5 separate regions of the Homo sapiens genome follow, and all the other regions are linked to region 1. Evidence: promoter capture Hi-C in 16 types of primary human blood cells and fetal thymus (Javierre and others, 2016). All regions are on one chromosome and are shown on one strand. Each heading gives the region's core, a stretch centred on a gene start or on the middle of the fragment in contact. The rest is flanking DNA. Distances are from core to core; before and after follow the strand shown.

Evidence for each region. Contacts are between HindIII fragments. The CHiCAGO score rates a contact against its expected background, and 5 or more counts as called.
Region 2: a contact is called between a fragment that was not itself captured here and the fragment with the promoter of CLXN in region 1, in 1 of 17 cell types (endothelial precursors). The highest score is 5.2, in endothelial precursors.
Region 3: a fragment that was not itself captured here is called in contact with the fragment with the promoter of CLXN in region 1 in 1 of 17 cell types (endothelial precursors); the score reaches 5.2 in endothelial precursors.
Region 4: a contact is called between a fragment that was not itself captured here and the fragment with the promoter of CLXN in region 1, in 4 of 17 cell types (endothelial precursors, M1 macrophages, M2 macrophages and 1 more). The highest score is 6.6, in endothelial precursors.
Region 5: a fragment that was not itself captured here is called in contact with the fragment with the promoter of CLXN in region 1 in 1 of 17 cell types (endothelial precursors); the score reaches 5.1 in endothelial precursors.

What each region holds. Positions count from the first base shown.
Region 1 is chr8:48,733,094-48,738,315 of GRCh38, forward strand. It overlaps CLXN (calaxin), which reads right to left and starts at 2,175. Exons shown (of 6, transcript NM_024593.4): 1 at 2,001-2,175. The coding sequence starts at 2,058. RefSeq lists an enhancer at 1,580-2,254. The HindIII fragment of the contact is 1,056 bases long and covers 1,574-2,629 here.
Region 2 is chr8:48,302,630-48,308,325 of GRCh38, forward strand. It overlaps the pseudogene RNU6-295P. Among named protein-coding and RNA genes, the nearest start is that of LINC02947, 210 kb to the right of the region's middle. The HindIII fragment of the contact is 397 bases long and covers 3,922-4,318 here.
Region 3 is chr8:48,343,968-48,349,653 of GRCh38, forward strand. LOC105375821 (a long non-coding RNA gene) reads left to right here and starts at 2,823. Exons shown (of 4, transcript XR_001745891.1): 1 at 2,823-2,859. The HindIII fragment of the contact is 2,255 bases long and covers 3,133-5,387 here.
Region 4 is chr8:48,324,774-48,330,308 of GRCh38, forward strand. No RefSeq gene overlaps it. Among named protein-coding and RNA genes, the nearest start is that of LINC02947, 190 kb to the right of the region's middle. The HindIII fragment of the contact is 4,016 bases long and covers 26-4,041 here.
Region 5 is chr8:48,405,969-48,411,256 of GRCh38, forward strand. The region is part of intron 2 of LOC105375821 (a long non-coding RNA gene); the gene reads left to right. Among named protein-coding and RNA genes, the nearest start is that of LINC02947, 110 kb to the right of the region's middle. The HindIII fragment of the contact is 419 bases long and covers 2,717-3,135 here.

The DNA.
Region 1 (5,222 bases), core at 925-3,424:
AATTTCATGTTATATGTAACCACATACACACACACACACAAACCTCCTAAAAAGCAAGAGCTGTTAGTTGTTGCGGAAGAAAAGCCTGCATGAAGAATGATGTACTCTGTTCATGTACATAAAATGGTAGCAGAGGGGATGTTGGTTAGCCATTTTTCCATCTCAGCTGAAATAAAAATTTTTAAAAACTAGTTTAATTTATTACCCAAAGGATCAAAGGTTAGCCATAAGAAAACTTTTATTGCTAAACATTTCTTAAATTCTAGAATACAATACTAAATGAAACAAGAAAATTCAAGAATAGGTTTTCATCTTCTTGGAATGCTGTGAATGTGTCCTGCAGAACATATCTGTAGAACAGTGCATGAACTAGATGTTCTCTTAAGATCTTTCACTCTTCTTTGATTCTACAAAATTTATCCATTGAATCTTGATAGCTTTATTGTCTTGCAACTAAAACAAAATTTAACTTTAGGGGAAAGTTCTTCCGTTAAAGAAAATTTAAAATTATTATAATGTCCATGACGTATAACTATTTCTATAGACTTTAACTAATAATCATCTAAGTTTGTAAGACTCATTGAAAATTTTTTAGTAAACAAAAAAATCAAGAGCAGACTTTTTCCTGCCATATTTTTACTTACCTTTAAAAATATACACTCACCTTTTGATTGTTCACAGAATGATTGTCTGCAATGCATTCAAACTTACCGAACAGAGACTAAATCAAATTCAAACTTACGGAAAGGGACAAAATCAGTATTGTGTATAGCAGCTATTGCATTGTTTTTGAATATTTATCAAAAATGTTTACTAGATGTTTACTAGAAGAATACCTATTCTCCCAGAAATGAAAGTGTTTTAAGAAAAACAATAACAGAACAAAACCCTCATCAGAGTATAGTAGTCATAATAATATCTTAAATTACAGGATTTTTTTCCTAAACATTTTAAGATGCGTACACACACCATAATATTCATTTATATCACCATCCACTAAGAGAGCATTTCTTACCAGGTATTAAATCAGATACTAATGATAATTAGAATGCACTAGATCTTACAATCTCTAAAACTACATCAACATGTTTATTCCTTCTTTTTTGAGCGACTCGGTTATTTGGGGGATTGTTGCTTCTGTTTCTTCAAGTGGCCAGTAGTTTTGCAATTAGCACACACAACTTCTAAGTTTGCTCGACAGGAAATTATCTTCCTCATCTAAACCATACCCACGGCTTCCTTGCTAAAGTGCAATTATGTTTTTCAGTCTGAATATAAACTCAAAGTTTCCTATGAAATTCTAGGACCACCCTTTCAAATGCGAGATTAGAGCAGGTGCCTTCAAATAGGGCTCATCTTGTCACCTGCAAAGTCTCCTTTATCTTTCAACACCAGGGGCCACTGGAAAGTGGGAGTCTAAAGTTGGGAACCCATTCTTTACCACGTGTTTAGTTGTGCTGAACTCTGGTTTCCAAACAAATATTGTTCTGAGGCACAGATGAGATGACACAACTCATCTCTCCGAAAGATGTTGAGAAGTTGAGCACCGTTTTCTCCTATGGGTCTCTTGGTAAGCTTCCAGAACTTGGACCTGCGGGTGTATGTGCGAGCTATAAAGCAGGGTGAGTGCACGGTCTACCTTGGTGGTGCTACTTTTCTTGAGACCAGTTGGTTTTAGCATTTATTTTACACCTCATTGAGGCTAACATCACATGTTTCTATCAGGTAAAAGAAGAGGGTTGGAGAAGCAAGTAAATGCATGTGTGGGAGTGTAGGTAGCACCAGAGGCGGAGGCCTGGGTTCCTAAGATCAAACGCAAGGAGCTGGCACCCCGGGATTCCCTCTCTGACTTCTGCTTAAGGGGCCGGGGTGGAGGGGCGGTAGGTAGCCCACAGAGTCCCAGCAGGCGGGAAGCAGGCACAACAGCGGACCTTAGCACGGGGTGGGACCCAGGCTCGGTCCAGGAGCCTCGGCCTGTCCAGCACTACATTCTTACTTACAATGCTTGCAATTTTTGGTTAAGGTGTCCGTCAGCTTCTGCAGTTTCTTGCGGTTCATGTCTGGCGCTCAGAGAATCGGGCCGCGGCGGGGGTCTCTGGGCGCGCGGCTACCGAGACCCTCGCGGGACCCCCGCGAGCCCTGGTGCTGGGTCAACGCGGTGAGGTCTCAGTTACTGATCTCGTGCGCGGCCCTAACAGACGGTGTAGCCAAGGCAACGGCTCAGCCCGCCGCGGATTGGCTCCCAGGCTGCCCGCGACGTAGCCAAAGCTACAGCTGGGCCCCGCCCATCGGCTCAGCGACTGCTCGCGCTGGGTTCTCGGTGCGCGGTGCCGCCGGCAGGGTCCCAGCTGGCCGCCTTGAGGGCTGTATTCTGACTGTTGACGTTGGAGTTTAAATGTTCAGTTGTTGCTGGCTTTTGAGTTCGCAGCCTCTTTGCTTGATTGCAGTGTAAATCATTAAAATCTGAAATGTGGTGTGCACGCTGTATGAGAGGTGTTTCGGGTCGTGAGCGTCACGCCTCAAGGGAAGGCCCAAGATCTTGGACATCTTGGGGGCTGGAGCAGCGTCACAAAATAGCAAGGTGCTGTCCAGAGGACGATCTTGCCGGGCCTCCCGTCAGAGGGCTAGAAGCTTGCTCTTTGGGCGGAGCCACTGCTTAGGTTTTCAGTCTTGGTGAGGTAACAGGAGGCAGTCTGTCACCTGAGGTCTTCGAGCTTTTAGTTGTGTTTCTGAGAGCAAGGGGAAATTGGAATACAGCCACGGGTTGCCTAAGGAGCGGGACGCGTTCCGAGGTCACTAGGAGATTTCATCACTGTGTGCACATCACGGTGCACCGACACAAACCTAGATGGCCTTGCCTACTGCACGCCAGGCTGTATGGTACAACCCATTGCTTCTGGGCTGCACCCCTGCACAGCAGGTCACAGCGCGGAATGCTGCAGGCAGCTAAAACAGAGTGCTAAGCACTCTGGGGAAGGTGCAGTGTTCCAGTACAGTGTTACATCTTATGGGACCACTGTCCTAATGTTGTCTGATGTTGACTTAAATGGCGCTATGTGGCTTGTGACTGTAGTTTTTTTCTTTTCCCACTGCCCTCATCTCACTTCCAAAAGATGGAGGTTGTCTGTGGAATCTGAGGAAAGCCACGAGGAATTTTTATACTGCTTAAATAGGCATTCCCCCCAATGAAAACGGGCTGACAACACCACTTGGGTGTGGGGTACAGCCCAATCTTGCTTTTCCGGAAAATATCTCAGCAACCTTGGTCCTTTACTTATTTGAAAGACAAGTTCTGTGCCGGCAGACAAAGGATATTCCTTACATCTTCAGGGTGGGAGGACTTTCTGCTTTTCCTGATCACAGAGGGGATATCCTCTTTCAGCTAAGGCAGCAATAAAAAGGGGTGGCTCAGCCAGGATCACCAAATCTACAGTATTCTCCAGAGTGCCTGCTCGTTTAACTTCAGAGGGGAAAATGACAAACTATGTTATTGTACACATACTGGCATTTTTAGACTGAAGGCAGAAAAATTCTACTAACCATGAGTAATAATCCCAAATGAAATAATTCCAATGTCGAGGCCTCTGGTTTTTCTTTACTGTTTCATTTGTTTGTGGAATGAAGGATTGGGATGCTGTTTGAAACTAGAGCAAAGGGTGCTTGGTAAAGGCATGGACTGTGTTATCCTAAAGCAAATGTCCTAACAACAGTTACCCGATATGAATTGATGGTGATTATGAGTTTGTAACAGTAGTATTTTTAAATAGTGTTTCTACATATCCCCTTGTCTAGAAGAGTGAAATTCCTGAGACCATAGAGAACAAAAGGGAAAGACTGGACATATTTGAATTATACTTACCTGTGACACCTTATTGATTTCTGTTGGATCACAGAGCTGTAGCAAATACTTAATTCCTAGAGATTGCTGCACTGCTCACTTCAAGAGACAAGGAACCGAAAGAGTGGTTGTCAGTAATTACTAAGAGACGCTGTGGGCTCCCCACCTGATGTACTAGGCCTGTGTTGGGGAGCAGGCCTGCGCTGTTGGTGAGCACATTGGTGGTTATTTCTGGTGGCCTGGGGAGATCGCATACACCGGGTGCTTGCTATAGGTAAGCTAATTAGTTATTCCTTCACGAGTTTAAGGCCTAGAGCCCATCAGCCATGTTCCCTTAAAGTTAAAAAAATAATAAAAAGATGTAGGGGCAATATCACAGATTGTTGAAATTAAAATATGCCGGGCCAAAACTCCTTAACCTGTTGAGCAAACTTTGTAAGTCACCTCCTCCTCTTCCACTTCTTTTATCCTCCAGTTCTTTCTTCCATGCAGTTCTTTTAGCCAAAAAAATCAACCAATCTATCTATCTATCTATCTATCTATCTATCTATCTATCTATCATCTATCTATCTATCTTTCTATCTATCTATGCAAATGCATTGTTTTGTGAATCTCACTTATCTAAGAGAGTGATTTGCAGAGTTGACCTTACAATAAGGTCTTATCATCTTTTTCAGGGAAAGCACAATGTTTATTTGGAGTATGTTTTGTCAACATACGGGTAAACTTCAGAGCTTTCATTACATTCTTGTGAAGTTTTGGAACTTAATATTTTTAGACTTTAGAAACAAGTTGCAGGCCTGATTGAGTCAGTGAATAACATTTCAAAGCAAGTTGAAGTTTCTATTTGTAGTTTTAGTTGCTTATGCTGAGTAGACACAGGACTGCTTTCCCCCAAGAGCTTTCTCAGAGTAAGGCAATTAAGCCTAAGAGGCTACTTCATATTAAATCAATCAATAATGGAATAATAAAGGATTGTGTTTAATTCGTATTGGACATAAATTTTACTGTGCATGAAATGATCATAGAACTTTCCAAAAATCCAAGCAACCTCAAGATGAATAACTTTGTAAACACAGAAGTACATTAAAGTGACTATTAATGCTATGTTTCCTTTAGTTTTGTGTGCAAAACAATCTTCCCTTTGACTCAGCATTCACTGGATTGTTGCCATGATAAACAGCTTGGACCTTGACTTGATGAAATTGTTTTCCTTAATGTGGACCTTTTATGATGAAGGCCTTTGGAAACTGTTGAGGAAATGACATCATAGAATTGATCTCCAAGTATATCACAAATCTATTATAAAATTGCTTGAATAAAAGGGAAATAGGTTAGTTACCTGCATAATAGAAATTCAACTTTACTAATTTTATTTTGTGGA
Region 2 (5,696 bases), core at 2,870-5,369, 430 kb before region 1:
ATATCACCAACCCCAGGGTCTTGATACTTTGACAAATATGAGGACACAAAATCTGCTGATGTCTCCAGGGAAAACAAGCAAAAAGATGGATCTGGCTTTCAAATGCCTGGGAGGCCAACAGATCTCAGCCAGGGCTGTGCAGCAGAGTGGAAGGATGTGTTTGCCCAGAATCCCAGCTCCACATTGGTCCTGGAGTGTTAAAGAAGAGGTGTTGAGTTCTCTGTCCCTAGACTTCTCCTCCCTGACTCCAGGCCTATATCCCAGGATGAGGATGGATTTGTGATATCTGGAAGTGCTGAGGTGAGAGTGATGAGGCCTCAGCAGCATGGAGAGCTTTATTTGTGCTCTGCTGGAGAAGTTAGAAGAGCAGCAGTCATGCACTGGTGCTCCCAGCTCTTGGCACCCTGTCTGGGTTGAGCCATGTAAGCTGGCACATCCTGAAAAGAATAGGTTTTCTGTAGAATAAATAATCACTTTCTCAGGACAGTGACTAATGGAGAGCCCTAATCCTCCAGTACAAGTTTCTGCATCACCGTGAGATTGAGAACTTCCTGGCCAGTGACCACAAGTTGCTGATGGGCAATAATGCCAAGGCTGACTTTCTGCACTCAGTCGATGACAAAAACGCTGAGATTTCAAATGCATCTCCTGGAGAGCAGACAGGCAAATGTAGAGCCAGTAGGGAGCCTGAACATGAAGATGGCTGTGAAGCCAAAGGCGGGCTCCCAGGTTGGAGGTGCCGTGCACACGTACCTGCTCTCAGCCTGAAGTAGCTTTGGAGTGAGTGACTTTTTTATTGACTCAAATAAAAACAATCTCTTCCCAGTTGTGTGCTTTGAAAAACAAGTGGCCTGAGGGAACTGTACCAGAGCAGCAAATGGCAATAGACCTGACGGTTGACTTTGTGAACAAGAGACACATTACAAAAACATGAGGAAATGAAGACAGACCCTGCCCAAGTCAGATGCTCAGACATCAAGTCAGGAGCCTGGAGGGAGAGGGCTTTGTGTGTGCCACACAGGGTCACAGAAGTGAAATAACTTTGTAACAGTGGGGAGCACTCTGCACACATTCCCATCTGAAGGGCCCATGACAGAGTTTGGATGTTGCCCTACTCAAATCTCATTTGAATTGTAATCGCCAGTGTTGGAGGTGGGACCTGGCGGGAGGCAATTGGATCATGGGGATGGATTTCTCATGAATGGGTTAGCACCATCCATTGCCTTGATGCTGTCCCTGTGATACTGAGTGAGTGCTCATGAGATCTGGTCTTCTAAAAGTGTGTAGCACTTCCTCCTTTCTCTCTTGCTCCTGCTCCTGCCATGTGAGACGCCTGCTCCCACTTCCCCTTCTGCCATGATTGAAAGTTTCCTGAGGCCTCCACAGAAGCCCAGCAGATGCCAGCATTGTGCTTCCTGTACAGCCTGCGGAACTGTGAGCCAACTCACCCTCTTTTTTTTTTTTTTTTAAACCCAGTCTCAGGTGTTTCTTTATAGCAATGCGAGAATGGACTAAAACAGCTCAGACCCACCTAATTATTAGTAGTGCCTCTTCCTCTCTCTTCCTGAGGAATGTCTGCAAGGACAAACTGTTCTCTATTTACTAAAAGCTAAGTGAGCATTCCTGTATAACTCTTTAAAATGTTGGGATCAGAAGTGTTAGTGCTGCTCTATTTTTGTCTTACCAATACTCATTTAGTTCAGTGTCCAAACACTCTCACTTAGAAAAGTACTAGAAACAGATGAGATGCCAGCCTAGGAGGCAGCCTCCGCTCCACACAGAACCCCCACTGACCATCACTGCTCTCTCAATCAGGGCAGTATAACAGGGAAGAGACAGCAGCACCGTGGGACCCTGAGCCTTGGTTGAACTCGCCAATGCAAAGCAAAACGAGGAAAACAAAGGCTCTCCATGGAAAAGGAGCTGATTTATCATGAATTTTATTTTAGTCATATGACAGAGTACCTCACTAAAGACAGATAAATGGGTGGAAAGCTATTCCCTGGAGGTGTTAGACAAGAAAAGCTCTGTAACAATGTGAGGTTGGGAAATGTTGAGTTAAACAAATTAAATAAATTTCTTTCTTGCAGGATTTCTCAGAATATTCTTATCCTAATGTGCGCTGTGAGTCTCCAAGAGGGGAATATGTTATGCAGGACTTCCCAAATTCATGTAGCCACAGGACTCCTGTTTTTCCTTCTCCCACAGGCAGCGGCTTGGTGCCATGTGTAAGCATGTGGGCTCTGGGATCAGCCTGTCGGCTTGAATCTAGGATCTCCTGCCTCTGAGCTGTGCGGCATTGGACAAGTCACTTAACCTCTCTCAGCTTTGGTTTCCTCATCTCTAAAACGAGTATAACAGTAGCACCTGCCTTATAAGGTTTTCATAAGGGTGTGGAAAATAAATTAGTTAATTCATATGAAGCACTGCATTTATCCCATGACCTCAGAGACCGTTAAAGCTTAGCAAGTTATCCATAGAAAGCACCTTGCAAACTGAGTGCTGCATCGTGAACACTTTTCAAAATTATCAGTGTAGTGGACATTAGGGTGGCCGCTTAGCATCTATGACACACACCCTGGCCAAAATGATTGGTTTAGGTTGGCCTAATTAGAAGGCTGGTCAAGAATGTTCTTTGATGGTTGAGAGGAGGACATCCCTTTGCATCTGAGTGATGGTGGGTGGGCATTGGACCTGGAATTGCTGTGGGCAATTCACTCTAATGAGACTAGTCAGCCTGGGAGGGAGCACACACCCTGAGGACGGCAGACCACAGATGTGCCCTCAGCAAACCTCCCTGGAAGTGTGCCCCTCCCCTGGACTTGCTCAGTCAGGAGAGCCTGTAAATTCCTTGCAGCTGAAGTAAGTATGAGTAAGGTTTTCTGTGACCAGCTGTCTGCAGCTTCTCAGCTGATAGAGTGGGGGAGCTGGTGGCAAAGTGGGGGAGCAGCTACGGGGTGCAAATACAGCCCAGCTCTTCGGAATGGACTGCACCAGCTCCCAGCTCTCATGTGACTGCTCTGCTTCTTAGTTTCCTCAAAGGGAGATATCAAAATCTTCTACCTAAACATTATGGTAAAGGTGAGGTGCAAAGGAGAGAAGGTGTGGGAAAACACTTTGGAGACAGTCAAGTGTTCTATAAAGGCAAAGCAGAAATGTTTATAGCAATTGTGGAAACTCAACCACTTCTTGATTTAAAGCTGTTACACTGTGGTGGTACAAGATTTTTGGCTAATGCCAAAATAAGAACATAAAAGCCAGCTGTCAAAATATTATAATTGGTTTCTGTCAAACCCGAAGGCTTTAAATTCTGTGATGCTATAAGTTTAAGGGCTTATCTATGGATTTCTGCCATTCTATAATACTCTATCCCATTTAAAATTCTATCGCTGTGAATACTTCAAAAGGGACTCTGGAAAGTATTCACGTATAACTGACGAGTCTCACATTATGGTAATTAAACTTTTTTTTAAATTTTAAACTCCGTGAAATTTTAGTTGTCACTTATCCTTATTTACAATTCAACTAAATGGACCAACTACTATTTGATAAAAGGTAGTGAAATTTTCACTTCTAGTTTTAGAAAGTTTTAACCAACAGTATAGTATGGTGGAAAGTTAGTAAAAGAAATCGTCTACAAAAAGTAAGAAGAAATAAATTCTGCAATTACTTTAATGAAGTTGAAACTTTAAATTATTACCAATAGTAACCATTATTGAGAAGGACAGTTTTCCATGGGTTTCTTGCACGTCTACAAGTCTTGCTGGGTATTTCAAGAATGCAAAGCCCTGGCTGACCTTTAGCCTGGCCATTTCTCAGGTTGTGTTTGCAGTGAGTAACCTTGAGGAACTGAGTAAGGTCTCCCTCCAAGACAAAGAGTGGACGGACTTACTGTTTGATGTGACAGTGGTGTGTTCCCCAAGCTTAGTGCTCGTCAGATGTGGCACAAACCCACTGCACGTAAAACATCCATCTGGGCCCCTCCATGCCAGCCCCATACACATTCAAGAAAAGGAGAACTGTCATATGCATGCCATGTCCTGAGTAATAAAGTCCCATGTCTCCGATCCAGGGGTCTCATGTCTGCTGCCAGCATCCATGAAACTGAAATAGGCTAACCTATTAGCTTACAAGGAGGGTAAAGGCAGATCCTAGACTTTACATTGGTATTGAGATTTTTGGTGATTTTGTATAATATTTGATTTATTTTCGTAAACATTTCCGTGTTAAGAATTCACACCTATGGTATTCTTTGTGGGCACCTGGCATCTTCATTAACCAGCAGACGGAGCCTGTGCTGATTAATTAGATGCAGGCAAGCTTTCTTTGTTTTACACATGCCAGACACCTCACAGAAAAATCCACTTACAGTTATCACAATGCTGTTAGTACACAGAAAAAATGTAGGACATGATAGTAGCATCCTTTACTTGGGCTTCAGAGCATAGAAGGTAAAAATATTACGTTTTCCGAGGGGACCTCCCAGGTAGGAGGAAGTTCGGGAATGTGCATTACCACTCTAAAAGCACTTGAAAGGAATATTTTCTAAATAAAGAATTACTCTGAAGTTGCTAGCACTGGATCTTGTGAAAGGAGAGCTCCTGAATATAACATATTTGTCTTTGGAACTCTAGAACTTTCTCTTTCGTTTACATCATGTATGTTATTAGGGAATAAGGTCCTCAGCTGGTTGTGGTGGTGTGTGCCTGTAGTCTGTTACTCAGGAGGCCTAGGTGGGAGGATTGCTTGAGCCCAGGAGTTCGAGTCCAGCCTGGGCAACATGGTGAGGCCCTGTCATTGCAAAAAAATAAAAATAAAAATGGAAAGGAAGTCTTACCTTGGAAATGATCTGATGTTTACTATGCTTAAAAACTGTGTGTCCGTCAAGTGCCTGAGGAAGTGCACACGCAGGTCATGTGACTTTACTTTAACATCCTCATGTTTGTACTTTCACCCACCACAATTTTAGGTGCACACAGACAAGTCCAGAGCTGACCACCTGCCTGCAGCTGGGCCAATTTCCCTGAACAAGTCTTAGCATCAGTACTTGATGAGCTCCAAGCCTCCTGTTTGTTTATAAAATAAAGCTCCTCTTGCTCATTTTGCCTTTGGGTGGAAGCACAAAACATTCTTTAAAATAAAGGAAAGAAATTTAAGAATAATTCAAAATTGCATTTTAAGGATTGTCACATGGTAGAAAACCAAATAGAAAACTATTAGTGATAAGATGGCAATAATGAAAAATATTTAATAATGTCTGTTGTAATTTGAATGTTGTTTTATTATTATTATTTTATTTTAATATGGAGCTCTTCATGAATTTGCGTGTCATCCTTGCACAGAAGCCATGCTGATCTCTCCAGCATTCCAGTTTTAGTGTATGTGCTGCTGAAGCAAGCATGTAACTTGAAGTTTATTTTCAAACTTTGGAGTTGCATGTATTGACAGTCATGTTGTTCCACCTTCAAATGGGTTTTTACTTCTTTTTTTTTTTTTTTTGGAGACAGAGTCTCACTCTGTCACCTAGGCTGGAGTGCAGTGGTGTGATCTTGGCTCACTGCAACCTCCACCTCCCAGGTTCAAGCGATTCTTGTGCCTCAGCCTCCCGAGTAGCCAGGATTACAGGTGTGCATCACCATGCCTGGCTAACTTTTTGTATTTTTAGTAGAGATGGGGTTTCATCATGTTGACCAGGC
Region 3 (5,686 bases), core at 3,010-5,509, 390 kb before region 1:
TGGACATTGATGCAAAAATCTTGAACAAAATATTAGCAAACTAAAGTGAACAGCACATTAAATGATCACACAATATAAGGAATTTATTCCTGGGATGCAAGGATGGTTAAACGTATGCAAATCCACATAATATACTATATTAACAGAATGAAGGATAAAAGTCATATGATCACATCAATAGATGCAGAAAAAGCATTTGACAAAATTTAGCATCCTTTCATGATAACAACTCTCAACAAATTAGGTTTAGAAGGAATTCACCTTAACCTAATATGGGCCATATATAACAAGCCCACAGCTAACCTTATACTTTGTGGCAAAAAGCTGAAAGCTTTTCTGCTAAGATCAAAAACAAAACAAAGATGTCCACTCTCACTAATTTTATTCAAAATAGTACTGGAAGTTCTAGCCAAGGCCATTAGGCAAGAAAAGAAATAAAAAATATTCAAATCAGGAAGGAGGAAATAAGACTCCCTTTGTTGTAGATAAGATGATTTTATATACAGAAAACCCAAAAGACTCTACCAAAAGCTGTTAAACAAGTAAAAATCAGTTGTAGCTTTATATACTAACAATGAACTATCTGAAAAAGAATTTAGAAAACAATCTCATTTACAATAACCTCAAAAAGAATAAAATACATAGGAATAAATTTAAGGAGGTGAAAGATTTTTACCCTCAAAACTATAAAACATTGATGAAAGAAACTGAAAATGTCCATAGTAAAAATAGAAATCAATACTTTAAAAAGTCACTGAAAACCATGGAATTATGTGGAAATTAAACAACTTACTCCTGAATGACTTTTGGGCTAGTAATGAAATTAAGGCAGAAATCAAGAAATTATTTGAAACTAATGAAAACAAAGATAGAACACACCAGAATCGCTGGGACACAGCTAAGGCAGTGTTAAGAAGGAAATTTTTAGGATTAAATACCCACAACAAAAAGTTAGAATGATCTCCAATTAACAACCTAATGTCACAACTAATAGAACTAGACAAGTAACAGCAAACCAGCCTCAAAGCTATCAGGAGGCAAGAAATAACCAAAATCTGAGCAGAACTGAAGCTGAGTAGGACACAAAACACCATTCAAAAGACCAACGAATCCAGAATTTGGTTGTTTGAAAAAAAATTAGTAAGACAGATAGACTAATAAAGAAAATATACAAATAGTCACAATCAGAAATGATGAATGGAATGTTATCACTGACCCTACAGAGATACAAATAACCATCAGAGATTACTACAAACACTTATGCACACAGACTAGAAAACCTAGAAGAGATGGATAAATTATTAGACACACACATCCTCCAAAGATTGAAACATGAAGAAATTGAATCCCTGAAGAGACCAATAATGAGCTCCAAAATTGAATTAGTAATAAATAGACTATCAACCACAAAAAAAAAAGGCACAGCACCAGATAGATTCACCAGATATCTGAATTCTGCCTCATGTACGAAGAAGAGATGCTACCATTTCTGATGAAGCTATTCCAAAAAATTGAGGAGAAGGGACTCTTCCTTAAATCATTCTATGAGGTCAGCATCATCCTAACACCAAAATCTGGCAGAAACACAACAAAAAAAGAAAACTTCAGGCCAATATCTTTGATGAACATTGATGCAAAAATTGTCAACAAACTACTAGCAAAGTGAATCCAGTGGCAAATAAAAAAGCTAATCCACCATGATCAAATAGGATTTATCCCTGGGACACAGGGTTGCTTCAACATATGCCAATCAATAAATGTGACTCATCACATAAATGGAACTAAAGACTAAAGTCACGTGATTTTCTCAGTAGATGCAGAAAAGGCTTTTGACAAAATTCAACATCCCTTCCTGTTAAAAAATCTCAATAAACTAGATATTGAAGGAATATACTTCAAAATAATAAGAGCCACCTATGACAAACTGACAGCCAACATCGTATTGAATGTGCAAAAGCTGGAAGCATTCCCCTTGGAAACTGGCACAAGACAAGGATGCCCTCTGATATGGTTTGGCTGTGTCCCCACCCGAATTTCATCTTGAATTGTGGCTCCCATAATTCTCAAGTGTTGTGGGAGGGACCTGGAGGGAGGTAACTGAATCATGGGGCTAGGTCTTTCTCAAGATGGTGAATAAGTCTCATGAGATCTGATCCTTTTATAAATGGTTTTATTAGTTCATTAGCAGCATGAGAATGGACTAATACAGTAAATTGGTACTGGGTAATGGGATGCTGATGTAAAGATACCCAAAAATGTGGAAGTGTCTTTGGAACTTGGTAAGAGGCAGAGGTTGGAACAATTTGTAGGGTTTAGAAGTGGACAGGAAGATATGGAAAAATTTGGAACTTCCTACAGACCTGTTGAATGGCTTTGACCAAAATGCTGATGGTGATAGGGGCAATGAAGTCCAGGTTGAGGTGGTCTCAGATGGAGATCTGACAGCTTGCACTCTGTGCCTGGAGAAGCCTCAGACACTCAGTGCCAGCACATGAAAGCAGCCAGGAGTGGGCTATACATTGCAAAGCCACAAGGGTGGAGCTGCCCAAGGCTGTGGGAAACTACCTCTTGAATCAGCATGACCTGGATGTAAGACATAGAGTCAAAGGAGATCATTTTAGAACTTTAAGGTTTAATGACTGCCCTATTGGATTTTGCACTTGGATGGGGCCTGTAGTGCTTTTGTTTTGGTCAGTTTCTCCCATTGGGAATGGGTGTATTTACTCAATGCCTGTACCCTCATTGTATCGAGGAAGTAACTAACTTGCTTTTAATTTTACAGGCTCATAGGCAGAAGGGACTTGCCTTGTCTCAGATGAGACTTTGAACTGTGGACCTCTGAGTTAATGCTGAAATGAGGTAAGACTTTGGGGGACTGTTGGGAAGGCATGATTGGTTTTGAAATATGAGAACATGAGATTTTGGAGGGGCCAGAGGTGGAATGATATGGTTTAGTTGTGTCCCCACCCAAATCTCATCTTGAATTGTAGCTCCCATAATTCCCACATGTTGTGGGAAGAACTCAGTGGGATGTAATTGAATCATGGGAGCGGGTCTTTCCCATGTGTTCTCATGATAGTGAATAAGGCTCATGAGATCTGATGGTTTTTTAAAGGGGAGTTCTCCTACACAAGCTTTTTTGCCTGCTGCCATGTGAGATGTGTCTCTGTTACTTCTTTGCCTTCCACCATGATTGTGAGGCCTCCCCAGTCATGTGGAACTATGAGTCCATTGAACCTCTTTTTCTTTGTAAATTACCCAGTCTTGGGTATGTCTTTATTACAACATGAGAATGAACTAACATAGTAATCAATAAACTATGTTTTGAAAGAACATACGTCAAAGTAATAAGAGTCACCTATGACAAACTGACAGCCAACATCATACTGAATGCACAAAAGCTGGAAGCATTCCCCTTGAAAACTGGCACAAGACAAGGATGTCCTCTCTTAACCCTCCTATTCAACATAGTATTGGGAGTTCTGGCCAGGGCAATCATGCAAGGGAAAGAAATAAAGGACATTCACTAGGGGAACTGTCAGGCCTGAACTTTGCAGGGCAATCTTGCTCATCCAATGGTGCTCGTCTCATCTGAGCACCCGTTGGTCTGCTGGCCTCTCTTAGGGCCTCAGCCTGGCCACACCTGCTTGCAGAGCAGTCTCAGGTGCCCTGGGGGCCTGCACCATAGCTTCTGTGCTGGTGGACTGTGCCTGACCAGTGGAGAGGTCTAATGGGGCAGCCACTATGGCCATACAGCAGCTTGCATGCTCCCTCCCCATACTGCAGCTTCCCCCAAGTCCATGGCAACTCCCCATGTTGCTTGCTGTTGCCCATCTGCATGGATGGGTTTTGCTTTCCTTGCTCCACCAGTGCAAGGGAGTGCAGTCTGGCCCTCCTCCCTCAACTGACTGCCATTGCAGATGAAGCCTTGGTGGGCAGAGAGTCAACCAGTCCCACCCCCACCCCCACCAACACCCTGCCCTTGCACTAACACTGTGTAGAGAACAGTGGATTCTCCCCTGCCCTTAGCAATCACTCCTGCTTGTGGGGCACAGATAAGGCACCTAGATCTGTGTCCACCAGCACCTTACCCCTGAGCCAACACCACCTTTAGCATGACTGTGCACATAGTCCCCAGCAAGGGCCCCCCTGACACCACCCCACCAGCTGTGTTGCCTCTGTCACCGTAGTAAATGCCTGCAGGGAGACAGGCACCCTGGCACCTGCAAACACTCTGTCATAGCTGCCACACCTCAGGCCCCCCACCCCCTGGCACAAGTGGATTCTTAACCTTGAGGAGCCAGAGAACAAAGCTGGGGCCCAATACCAGTTCAGAGCACAGAGTCCATGAGATGGGAGATGAGCACTGTCTACCTAAAATCTTCCAGAAATAGAGCCAGCCATCTGAATTCACCTTATACCACAATCAAACCCTCAATGTCATCAGGTAGTATAAAAGAAGAAAAAAAAAACACTCTGCCAAAGGTCAGAAGCCTCAAAGATTGAAGGGAGATAAGCCTACAAAGATGAGAAAGAATCAGTGCAAGAACCCTGAAAACTCTAAAAGCTGGAATGCCCTCTTTCCTTCAAATGACCACATCACCTCTGCAGCAAGTATTTTGAACTGGGCTGAGATGGCTGAAATGACAGAAATCGAATTCAGAATATGGATAGGAAGGAAGATCATTGAGCTAGAGGAGTACATTGAAACCCAATTCAAAAAACCTAGAAATCATGATAAAACAAAACAGGAGCTGACAGACAAAATAGCCAGTATAGAAAAAAGAATTTAACCAACCTGATAGAGCTGAAAAACACATTACAAGAATTTCATAATGCAATCACAAGTATTAATAACAGAATAGTCCAAGAAAAGGGAAGAATCTCAGAACTTGATGATTGGCTTTCTGAAATAAGACAGTCAGACAAGAATAGAGAAAAAAGAATGGAAAGGAATTAATAAAACCTCCAATAAATGTGAGATTATTTAAAGAGAGTAAATCTATGACTCACTGGTGTCCCTGAAAGTGATGGGGAGAATGAAACCAACTTGGAAAACATACTTGGGGATATCATTCATAAGAACTTCCCCAACCTAGCTAGAGAGGCCAACATTCAAATTCAACAAATGCAGAGAACCCCACTAAGATACTTCACAAGAAGATCATCCCCAAGACACATAATCAGATTCTCCAACGTCAAAATAAAAGAAAAAAATGTTAATGGCAGCTAGTGAGAAAGGTCAGGTAACCTACAAAGGGAAGCCCTTCAGACTAACACTGGACCTCTCAGCAGAAACCCTGCAAACCAGAATATATCTGGGGCCAATATTCAAACTTCTTAAAGAAAAGAAATTCCAACCTGGAATTTCATATCCAGCCAAACCAAGCTTCATAAGTGAAGGAGAAATAAGATCCTTTTCAGACAAGGAAATGCTGAGGGAATTTGTTACCAGCAGACCTGCATTACAAGAGCTCTAGAAGGAAGCACTAAATATGGAAAGAAAAGACCATTACCAGCTGCTACAAAAACACACCAAAGTACACAGACCAGTGGCACTATTAAGCAACCACATAAACAAGTCTGCAAAATAACCAGTTAAAATCATGATGACAGGAACAAATCCACACACATCAATACTAACTTTGAATGTAAATGGGCTAAATGCCCCAATTAAAGGGCACAG
Region 4 (5,535 bases), core at 784-3,283, 410 kb before region 1:
CAGACATATAAATATTCTAAACAAAAGCTTGTTAGTTCTACCCATTCCACCATCTATTGAGTTAAGACTGGCTAATCCAGAGGTTGACACAGTTAAATGAAAGGGTTCATTTGGAACTGTTAACACCTTGCAATAACACCTTGCACTTATATAGAGCTTTTCATGCTGAAGGATTGCAAAGTGCTCTGCAGACAGTGTATAAATAGAAATGCCTCCCCCACCTCTAAAGGCAGCCTTCTTGCAGGCACAATGCGACCAAAACATCACCCCACAGTCTTTTTGTTGAAGGGAAACATTGCAGACCATTTTCTCCATTTCAAACTGAGTGAGTTTTTTCCTTGCATGGTTTGATTTTCTGATTCTCTGATACCAGCTGGGTGTCCAGTGATTCAATTCAATTCTGACATCAATTCTCCAGAGTAACCCAGACCCCACAAATTAAGGGCTCTGTCCTGCAAGAATACCTGTCATTTCAGATGCCAGTTGCAAGTAGTGGGTGCCCAGGTTACCCACACTATTGTCCCATTGGGCTACAAACTGGGGATGCCCACGAATCCCCCTGAGGTTCGGTAGTTTACTATAATGGTTTACAGAACTTGGGAAACATTTTACTTAAACGATTTCCAGTTTATTGGGAAGGATACAATTTAGAAACAGCCAAATGGCAGTGATGCACAGGGCAAGGTGTGGGGAAAGGAGTGCCCTCTCTGGGTGTATCACCCACCCAGCCCCTCAATGCGTTCAACAACTGGGAAGCACTCTAAGCCTTTCATTTAAGGGTTTTTAATGGGGGTTCCATGTTGTAGGCATGCTTGGTTAAATCACTGGCCATTGGTGATTGAACTCAATTTCCAGACCCTGACCCAGGGTGTGGAGTTGAGAGTTCCAACTCTCTAATCACATGGTTGGTTCCTGGGCAGCCAGCCCTATCCTGAAACTGTCTAGGGTCCACCAAGACTCACCTCAATGGCATAAACTCAGGTGTGGTGGAAAGGGGCTTGCTGTGAATAACGAAACACATTCCTCTCACCCCGTCACTCAGTATTGTGAGTGATAGGAACTTTGTCTCCAGGAACTGGGGACAAAACCCAAACATGTATTTTCTGTTATGTCATGCAAATGACAGGGTATCTCATATGACCAGTATGGGTCATGTTGGCATGAAGCAGGGTACTGCTATGAGTTGTCACCTCTCATGGAAGGGGTTCTGGGGAATCTGAAATGGCTTTCAGATACCCTCCATATAAGCACTGTTCAATAGAATTTCTATGTTGATGAAAATGTTCTATAACATGCACTATCCAATATGGTAGCACTAGTCACATACGGCTGTGAGCACCTGACATGTAGCTGGTTATGACTGCAATACTATTTTATTGTGATTACTTTAATTTCAATCAGCTTACATTTACTGGGTCCCCTGTGTTTCATGGCTGCGTTGTGTGAAGCTCTACAGCACAGACCCTCTAGAAATGACCGATGACCGTATGTGTGGGGTGGTGGCGGCTCAGGAGCAGTCCTAATGACCGCATTACTTATCCCCCAGCTCTGGAGCTGTAACTCAAAGTGAAATGGATGCTGGCCTCTGCAGAAAGTGTAGTATGGGACTCATTGATCCATCGAGCCATCCATCTATTAATCAATTTATCCTTTGAACAAATATTTCTTGAGTGCATTCAACACTTGGTCACATTCAACACTTTCCCAGGTAAATGGAGATTTTTACATTTAGAGTTGCCCAACAACTCTTTATTTAGATGAAGAATCAAATTTTGAATAAAAGTGAAGTTAATCGTTAAAATTATGTTTAAAAGCACTCCTCCCAAAAGTGAGTGCTAGTTGAGAGGGTGATTCTGAGCAGGAGGAGAGGTAGGAATGACATGATAACACCAGGTGTTAAGTGAACAAGACGGTGGTGTCCTGGACATGGAAATGTGTTTATAGGTCATGCAAATGACTCCTGAAGAAAAGCAGTTGGTGATTCTGGCAACAATGAAGGCATTGGTGATGGGGGGAAGCTGCGTGGTGTGGATGGCAGTATTTTACGGAGTTAAGTTTATTTTTGCCCAAGTGAAATTGTGGCTTGTAAAGAGGAATGAGAAGGCAGGAGCCTTGAAACAAAGTACAGGAGGTAGACTGAGATGCAGCTTCAGAGAAATGGCAAGAGCAATGAGCAGGGAAGACGGAGAGATGCACTGGGCCCAGGACCCGGGGGAGGGCTCAGCATGAAGTGGGGTGGGGTGGTTGTGCAGCCCAGGCAACCTCTGTGTCCCCAGGTCACAGAAGCTGGTCACTCTCTCTACCAATTCAGAGGAAGGAGCAGACTCAGAGGTCAGGGAGAAGGCTGCACCCAGGCCTGAGAGGCCTGCAAGGGCTGGGAAGGAAGACTTGTAGGAAGAGCTGGACCAGGGCAGGCCCTGGAAAGAGGGCGGCCTCTTCCTTCCACCATATACAAAAATCAACTCAAGATGGATTACAGCCTTAAATGTAAGACCTAAAACTATAGAAACCGTGAAATAAAACCTAGGAAATACCATTCTGGACATAAGCATTGGCAATGATTTCATGATGAAGTCCCCTAAAGCAACTGCAACACAAACAAAAATAGACAAGTGGGACCTAATTAATCTAAACAGCTTCTGCACAGCAAAAGAAACTATCAACAGAGTAAACAGATAACCTATGAAATGGGAGAAAATGTTTGCAAACTGTGTATCTGACAAAGGTCTAATATCCACTATCTATAAGGAAATTAAACAAATTTACAAAAGAAAAACAACCCCACTAAAAAATGGGCAAAGAACATTAACAGACACTTCTCAAAGGAAGATATACATGTTCATGGCCAACAGGAATATGAAACATGCTCAGCATCGCTAATCATTAGAGAAATGCAAATTAAAACCACAATGAGGTACCATCTCACACCAATCAGAATGGCTATTATTAAAAAGTCAAAAAATATTATAACAGATCCTGGTGAGCTTGTGTAGAAAAAGGAATGCTTATATACTGCTGGTGGGAATGTAAATTAGTTCTGCCACTGTGGAAAGCAGTCTGGAGATTTCTGAAAGAACTTAAAACAGGACTACCATTTGACCCAGTAATCCCATTACTGCGTATATACTCAAAGGAATAGATGTTGTTCTACCATGCACACGTATGTTCACTGCAGCACTATTCACAATAGCAAAGACATGGAATCAACCTAAATGCCCCTCAATGATAGACTGGATAAAGAAAATGTGGTACATATACACTATGGAATATCATGCAGCCATAAAAAAACCTCAAAATCATGTCCTTTGCAGCAACATGGATGCAGCTAGAGGCAATTATCCAAAGCAAATTAGTGGAGGAACAGAAAACCAAATATCACATGTTCTTACTTATAAGTAGGAGCTAAGTGATGAGAACACATGGATGTAAAGATGGGAACAACACACACTGGGGCCATTGGAGGCTGGAGGGTGGGAGGAAGGAGAGGATCGAAAAACTACCATCAGATATTATGCTCACTACCTGGGTGATGGAATCATTTCTACACCAAACCCCAGTGACACCTAATCTATCCATGCAACAAAGCTGCACACGCACTCCCTGAACCTAAAATAAAAGTTGAGAAAAGAGAAAAGAAAAACCTTGTTTCTTTTCTCTTACAAAATCTTTTCTAAGGACGTAGGGAATGAACGCAATTAATGGTAATTTAGTAAAATGTTTCATTCAGTGTTTAGAAGTTGATTTCTTTAGCAGTGTTTCACGTTGGCTTTGGAGGTGGCAGACTCTGCTTGTCCCTCATACACACGAAGTTCTGACCAGCACACAGGCATTTTCACATCCTGCTCAGAACCAAGTTTATATCCCATTTTAACTGGGTGAAAACTGACTCTCCAAGGAAAGTTTATCTGGGGGGCACCTTGGCTCTTTTTCAGCAAGTGGGGGTGTGGTGGGGGTGGCTGCTGAGGCTCAGGAGGTTGCGATCCAGGTGGGCTATCTGGGATTAGAGTGAGCCATCCTACGGGCTCCCAATGAGCCCAGTCAAGCTTGCTTTGTCAACACCGTCTTCTGAACAGCTGTAGATCATGCCGCCATCTGTGCGTGGCCTCTCCTACAGGAGCATCGTCTCAACCAGGGCCAAAGCCAGCGCCTGAGTCTGATGTCTACCAACGACGACCAGAAGCCCAGCTGCAAAGAAGGGGGCCTCTCTCTATCCCGGCCGGGTGCAGATTACCAGTTCCTGGGCCCCACCCAGCCGGGAAAGCCTGAGGTCCTTGCTCAGTGACTGGACTCACGGGCTTCTCCGGTGGTGGAGGGCCTGGCCCGGGCGTAAATGTCTGAGGGGCTTACTGGACGGCCTGGGAGTGCAGCCACTCAGCCCCCTCGGGACACCGAGGCTGGGGATTCGCAGCCCTGCAGGGACGGGCTCCTTCCCTGAGCTCTTCCTTGCACTGGCTCAACATGACTTGACGGGCCTTTAATGGAGAAGGAATCCTTCCGAGGGTCGATTTCACGTCCTCGTACTTCTTTTGGCAGTTGAGAAATTTCTTATTGAATCTTGCCTCCTCAGGGTTTTGACCGTTAATGGAAAGATTTATTGTCAACCTTAAAATGATAAAAAAATTGCCAATTATTTTTCAGGAAATGTATGATTTTTAGGGATGAGGAGTCCTTCAGAGACCTACTTAGCTGTGTGATCTTGAGCAAGTCGTTATCTTTTTGAACCCAAAACTGAGCTTCTTTAAAAGGAAGCAGTTGTACTAGACGACTGCTCAGAGCTATTCCAGTCTCAAAATTCCATGGTTCTGTATTTTCATAATTAGAAAAACCATGCATGTATATGGGTTCAGGTGATAATACTGACTAAAAATCATGCTGGGATACAGATGGCTGATGCCAGATCCTTTCCTGAGATCAGACTTGATAAAAGACAAGAGCGTTGAAAGCCGAGCAGAAACTAATACAGAAAAAAGGAATTTAAAGCTGTCAGAAATAAACCGCACGGACTGTAGTGGATTTGGATCTCTGTTCTCTGCCTTCTCTCTGTATGACTTTGGGTGCATTTCCCAGCCTCTCTGTGCTTCCATTTCCTATAATACGGGGACCCCAGTTCCCAGGGCTGTTTGGATGCCTAAAGCAGCCAGAAGACCGGCCCAGGGAGGGGATGCTGAAGGCTTGCCACTTTCACTAATGATGAGTTTTGGTACGCCATGCCCTGGGTATCTGCGGCTTGGAGTGATTCTTCCCTTAGTTCAATATCAATCTGAGTTTGGGAGTGGAAGGAAGTGAAGGTAGGAGTGACATTTTAGTCTTGGCTTTCACAAGCTGGTGAAGCAGCAGTAAGTGTTGCCCACTTTTATGGATCTCTGTCTAGGGACCTCTGTGAAAGAACCATGACTGCCCTAACACTTTGAAAAGCTACCTTTTTTTTTCCTTTTGGCTCTGCAATTTACATGGCTTTTGAAAAAGGCACTGACATTTTTTTAAAAGGGCATATTATGTATTTTCAGGATTTTACTGTTTATATAGTTACTTTTT
Region 5 (5,288 bases), core at 1,676-4,175, 330 kb before region 1:
TTTATTAAATAGGGAATCCTTTCACCATTGCTTGTTTTTGTTAGATCAGATGGTTGTAGATGTGTGGTGTTATTTCTGAAGACCTATCTTATTGTATATTGATATTAAGGCAAAAATACAGCATGTGCTACAGCCGTAGTTAAAAAAGAGGAAAACCAGTCACTCCTCTGGGTTTTCCCAAATTGTTATGCTCACAGGCTTCCGTGAGATGTGTCCTTCTTCCCCAGTGTCTCCGCTATGACTCCCAGCCCTGCCTTTGTGGGTGCCCAGCTGCTCCCAGGAAAAGCTGGGCAAGTCCTTCTGTCTGCATTCACACCTGGGACCCCTTCCTATGCCCTGCTGTGGCTGTGAGTCTTATTTCCTAGTGAGTCGCTATTGCAAGGAAATGTTCAGAGGATTTTTAGGTGCTGCTATTTGTGTTTTGACCTGGTTTGTGGAATGATATTGCTTAAATCATTTCTAGATTAGCTTCAAACACTGTTAGAATCACAGTCCATGAGGAGTTGTGTCTGATCTGGTTGCAGTATATAAAGAATTAGTAAAAAGTCTGTTCCCAGATACTATGTTGAGTTCCACAGAGAAGGGCTTCCTCACATAGATCTGCATGAGGTGTTATGTTCCTATCAAGATATTTAAGATGCTTTGACTTCTAAAAGAATAACTGGCTTTTTTTTAAAATCTCTCTGGGGGAATTTTCTCATCTTTTCTACTCCCTGCTTAAGTTAAAAACCACTATGAAGAGCTCTGAAGTTTATAAAGGTTTTGACTCTTAAAATCTGCTGGTCTTGATGTGAAAAGTGCTAAATGATATGGAATGAAACTGCTGGCTGTGCCTGGTGTTGCAGCCAGGCATTTTATTGTTCATTCAAGGAGACAGCTGTGCGGTCTGAGGTCAGCGAGGGAAGATGGCCTGGGTCTGTGAGGGTGCTGTGGGCTGCTGGCTTCTGAACATGCTTGGCCATGATCTGGAGTCCAGCATTCCCAGAGGGAACGGAGCCTACAGGGTCACGTTTAAACACCACAATGGAATTGAAACTTTTCCTTTAGGCTATTTAATTTGTATGTAATAAAAGCTATATTGCTTCTTGTTAAACCTGCATGAAAACAAGTTAAATTTCCCAGAAAACCTCATAAGGGATGGAGGTAGTGAAGGGACCTTGGAGATGGATGAGCAGATGTGAGCATGTGGCATACTCATGTTCCTGCTGGGACCCTGAGGGCTCCTCTCAGGGGCTCCCTACTCCCAGTGTGGACACTGGGTCTTCTTCCTGCCACCTGTGAAGCCCACACGGTCACATGTAAATCACCGGACAATTTCCCTTGGGTGCCTTGAGATTTCCCTACTGTGGATAAAGTGTTCTGTTTCTTGGGTGGAAGGAGCCCCACTCACTCTCTGGGGCAGCCAGGCTGCCGGGTACAGCTGCCCCCAGTGCTTTCTGCCCACTGCAGATGTTAGGTGAATCAAGATAATTAAAACCTGAATTACAGGATGCTTGTTCTCAGCTCAGACCAGGAGCTTTATTCAGATTTCATTTGCTGAGACACCTCTTGTGCCCCAGACATTGCCCTAGTGCAGCTGCATTCCATCCTCAGCAAGCTCAGCAAGGTAGATGTGGTTATGTCCACTACACAGGCAAGGCAAAGGAGGCAGAGAGGCTAGGCAGGCTGACCATGTGTCTCGCTTAAGAAGTGGTGAAGACAGGACCTAAATGCCAGTCTCCTTGGCTAAACGTTATACTTTTCCTCCCAAAGTGCACTGCCTCTCACAGATGGTGGAGGAGGGTGCAGAAGGGGCTCACGTGGCCAAATGGCCATGGCCATAGGAGGTCTGTGTGTTCCCAAACCTCTACCAACCCTGTCCCCCATCATTTAAAGTGATGATCATGATACCAACATTCTTAGTGGGCAGTAGTGCAAAGTCAGAGAAATAAGAAATAAGATGACTAATGTGAGAAAAGCCGGGGTGGTGTCTGGACAGGGGATGAGTCATTTATGCTCCACATCAGGTGGCTTGGAAACCATCACCCGCACACACTGCTGCTACTTTATGTTGGTGTGTGCAGCTGGCGTCTAAAGACTTCCTGCAGGTAGTCTTCCTGCAGCGGCTGCCCACCTGGCCCTGCTGTGCACCCTGTGCCTATGTGAAGCTTGGAGTCTAGCCTCACGCAGCCCGAGACTCCCAGGCTGCTTCATCCCCCATCTGCTGGAGAACCTGTTGCAGCTACAGAAATCTGAATCACTTGAGAAGCTTGTGTGATGGGCCTTGTTGCCTCACAGCTGCCTTTTTCCCGTGCTTCTCTCACCTGGGATGGATCAGCCCTTGAGTCTTCTCATGGCAAAGGTGAATGAAGCCTGGTTTTTCGCAGTTATCATCCTCTGACTTTATCATCCCCAAGGAAATGATCTAGGAAAGAGTGAGTACTTAATGATAAGAAAACTCACCATGTTTTATGATAGAGAAAAGCCCAGACCGCTTTTCGAAGTTGAATTTGCTACAGAAAAAGCATGGAAGGAAGAAGAAATAAGGTACACACAAACCTTGCCTGCTCTGCCCCAGAACTACAGGCCCTGGTGGGGCCTGCTCCCTGTCGCCAGCAAAGTTGCTGAGAGAGCACACGCCAGCCACGGTGGTGAAGTCATAGAAATGCTATGCCCCCACAGGCCACAGGAATTGTGGAAAGATTTGTGTAAATATCTCATGCATTCTTGTGATCTAAGCTTTATGGAAATAAAAACCACAATCAAAAAGCCAATGCCACATTTATTCCACCTCCTTCCTTTTCTCCTGTAGAATAAATTCATAGAACAGTTTATGGAGCAGCCAAGAAAATACGTTATTTCAATTTTATTACCAGGAAGACATGCACCTAAGTGCTCAGCAAGACTAACCTAAACAGGGTCCATTTCGGAAGAAGATGAGCAGATGCTGCTGGGCATCCCCTTAGTCATGAAGACAAGAGTGGCTCTCGCAGAGGCCACCCCACAGCCCCTGTGTCCAGATGGGCTTGGTAGTTACCAGTACTCAGAGAACTTCCAGCTTCCTTTCCTCTTCTCTCCTTTCTTAACTTTGTGGTGGATATTGGAGTTGGGACGTCTCACACACTCAGAGCACAGCTGGGATGTTCAACTTGCTGAAGCTTCCCTGGCACCAAGTTTAAAGAAACCACCGAGGAGCACATGGTTTCCCACACAGGCTCCTGGTGGGGCATGCCCTCACCAGGATTCCAGCAGCAGACCCCCAGGAGTCCTGGCCTGAGAGTGAGGAGGGGCCCTCTCTGGAGAGGAGCTGTGGACCCATGCTCACATCCATCCTTCCCACTTACCATAACACAGCAGGGAAGTCAGTGTCATGAGAACACATTTCCACCCTAAGTTTTTAAATGCACCATGCTAAAATTTTCTTTGAATTCTTGCCCCAATTTTTCTGACTTGTAATGTGAAACAACAGACTACTTCCTGCTTCTCTCTGCCCTCCTTTTCCCCACTCACATTCCAGTTATGTGTGTCACCCATATATTGAATGGACTTAGGAAAGTGCAAAGCAGGAAACAATCCAATTTTAATTAATCAATTGATGTTTTCTTCATTGCTCTTGAGGAGATCTCAGGCAGAAATCATAGTTTTCCTATTTACTTCTAACTATTCAAAGTCAAGCCTGAATTAAATCCTAACTTTGATCTCTCATCTAATTGAAAGTGTCTCCCCTCCCTGACCCCATCTCAGTCCTTATCTAGCCTGGGGACCTGGCACTGGAAAGGAGAACATTTCTTCACCCTTTCCTTCTACTCTGGAGTTAGGGGCTGGGAAGGAGGAGAGTAGGTGGCAGGAAGGTCTCATTTGTCTAGTGCAGTTATTATTTGACATTGTTACCTCTCCAGGGGCTCAGAAGCTGCCTTTTCCTTACCCATTTCAGAAGGAGACACTTGCGTGGTCTACCTGACCACTTCAACCAACTCTCAGCTTTTGCTGTAATAGCAGCACTGTGGAATGTTGCTCATGGAGATATGGGCCATTACTTGCCCTGTCAGTAGAAGTGCAGGTCCTGCTCTAGACTGTTCTCCTTGCTCTGCTGTCAGGGCAGATTAGGTAACCTATCATGGTTAGACTTTTTTCAACAAGAAGTAGTCACAACTGTCCAATTCCCCAAGACCTCTCTGACAGGCCTTTCATGTTGCCACAGGGCCTGTGAAGTGCCCTTATTTGGCTTGAGGTACGTGTGTCTTGAGCACGAATATCATAGAACCCCTTCCTCCCCATTAAAACAAAAACTCTTCTGAAAAATCCCCTCTCAGCAAGGCAGGTTAGGAAAATGGCAGAGGAAGCATAGGCAGCTCCTGCCCCGCCACAGAAATGTCAAAAACAAGCGGAAACTGTGAGAACTCTGGAAAACAGTCAAAGGTTTACAGTAACCAAAAGAATGCTGAATCAAGGAAAAGACAACTTTAAAAAAATGGGAGGAAAACTTTGTGGCATTTTTGTTTGCTCTTATTCCACCCCCTTTCCAGCTTGGCAGCAGTTTTGAGGAAGTCAGCTTGCATTCCCAGGGTGGAATTCTGGTCTCTGACTCTAGGAATCCTATTTACAAATTTTTGTATTTGCCTGTTCTCACCTGTCTGAGGGCTACCTGAAGGACTGACACAAGATGCTTGTCTCTGTTTTGGCTCACTCAGAAATGATTTGGGGTAGAAAAGCAGTGGGCATTGCCCCAAAACACTGTGTGGCAAACAAATAATCCATAACCTCCTGGGCAAAAGATTACAATTAAGACATGTAATTGAATATTTAAGTTTCCCTGAGAGGGAAAGATAGAGTTTCTTCATGAAATTAAAAGCATTTAAAAGTACCCACGTATACTGCGGAATTTAGAAAGCAACATGTACACCCAGGGCAGGACACATGCACTGAAAAGACTTGAGATTTAAAGGTTTGACTTCTGGCTGATCTGTAGGTTCAGTTCCAGCACAAAATGAAGGCTGAGGCAGAGTTGTAAACAGATCAGTTAAATGTTGAAAGAGTGACCCAGCACAGTCAATTTGCAAAGATGAGGAGAGATCTTTTGTTTGTTTTAAATTTTTCAGTTATGGGCATTCAAGGAAATCTCTATCAAAATACTGGCTGAAAATAAGCTAAAGAAACAGAGCCTTCATTGACCACACATGACAAGAAATACAGTCTTTGAAACAAAATAGTTTGACAAACTCAATGCACAAATAGATTACAGATTATTGCAGCCTTCAATCAATAAATAGCAAACCCTAAAGGAGAAGAATAATTTGATTTCTAGAGTT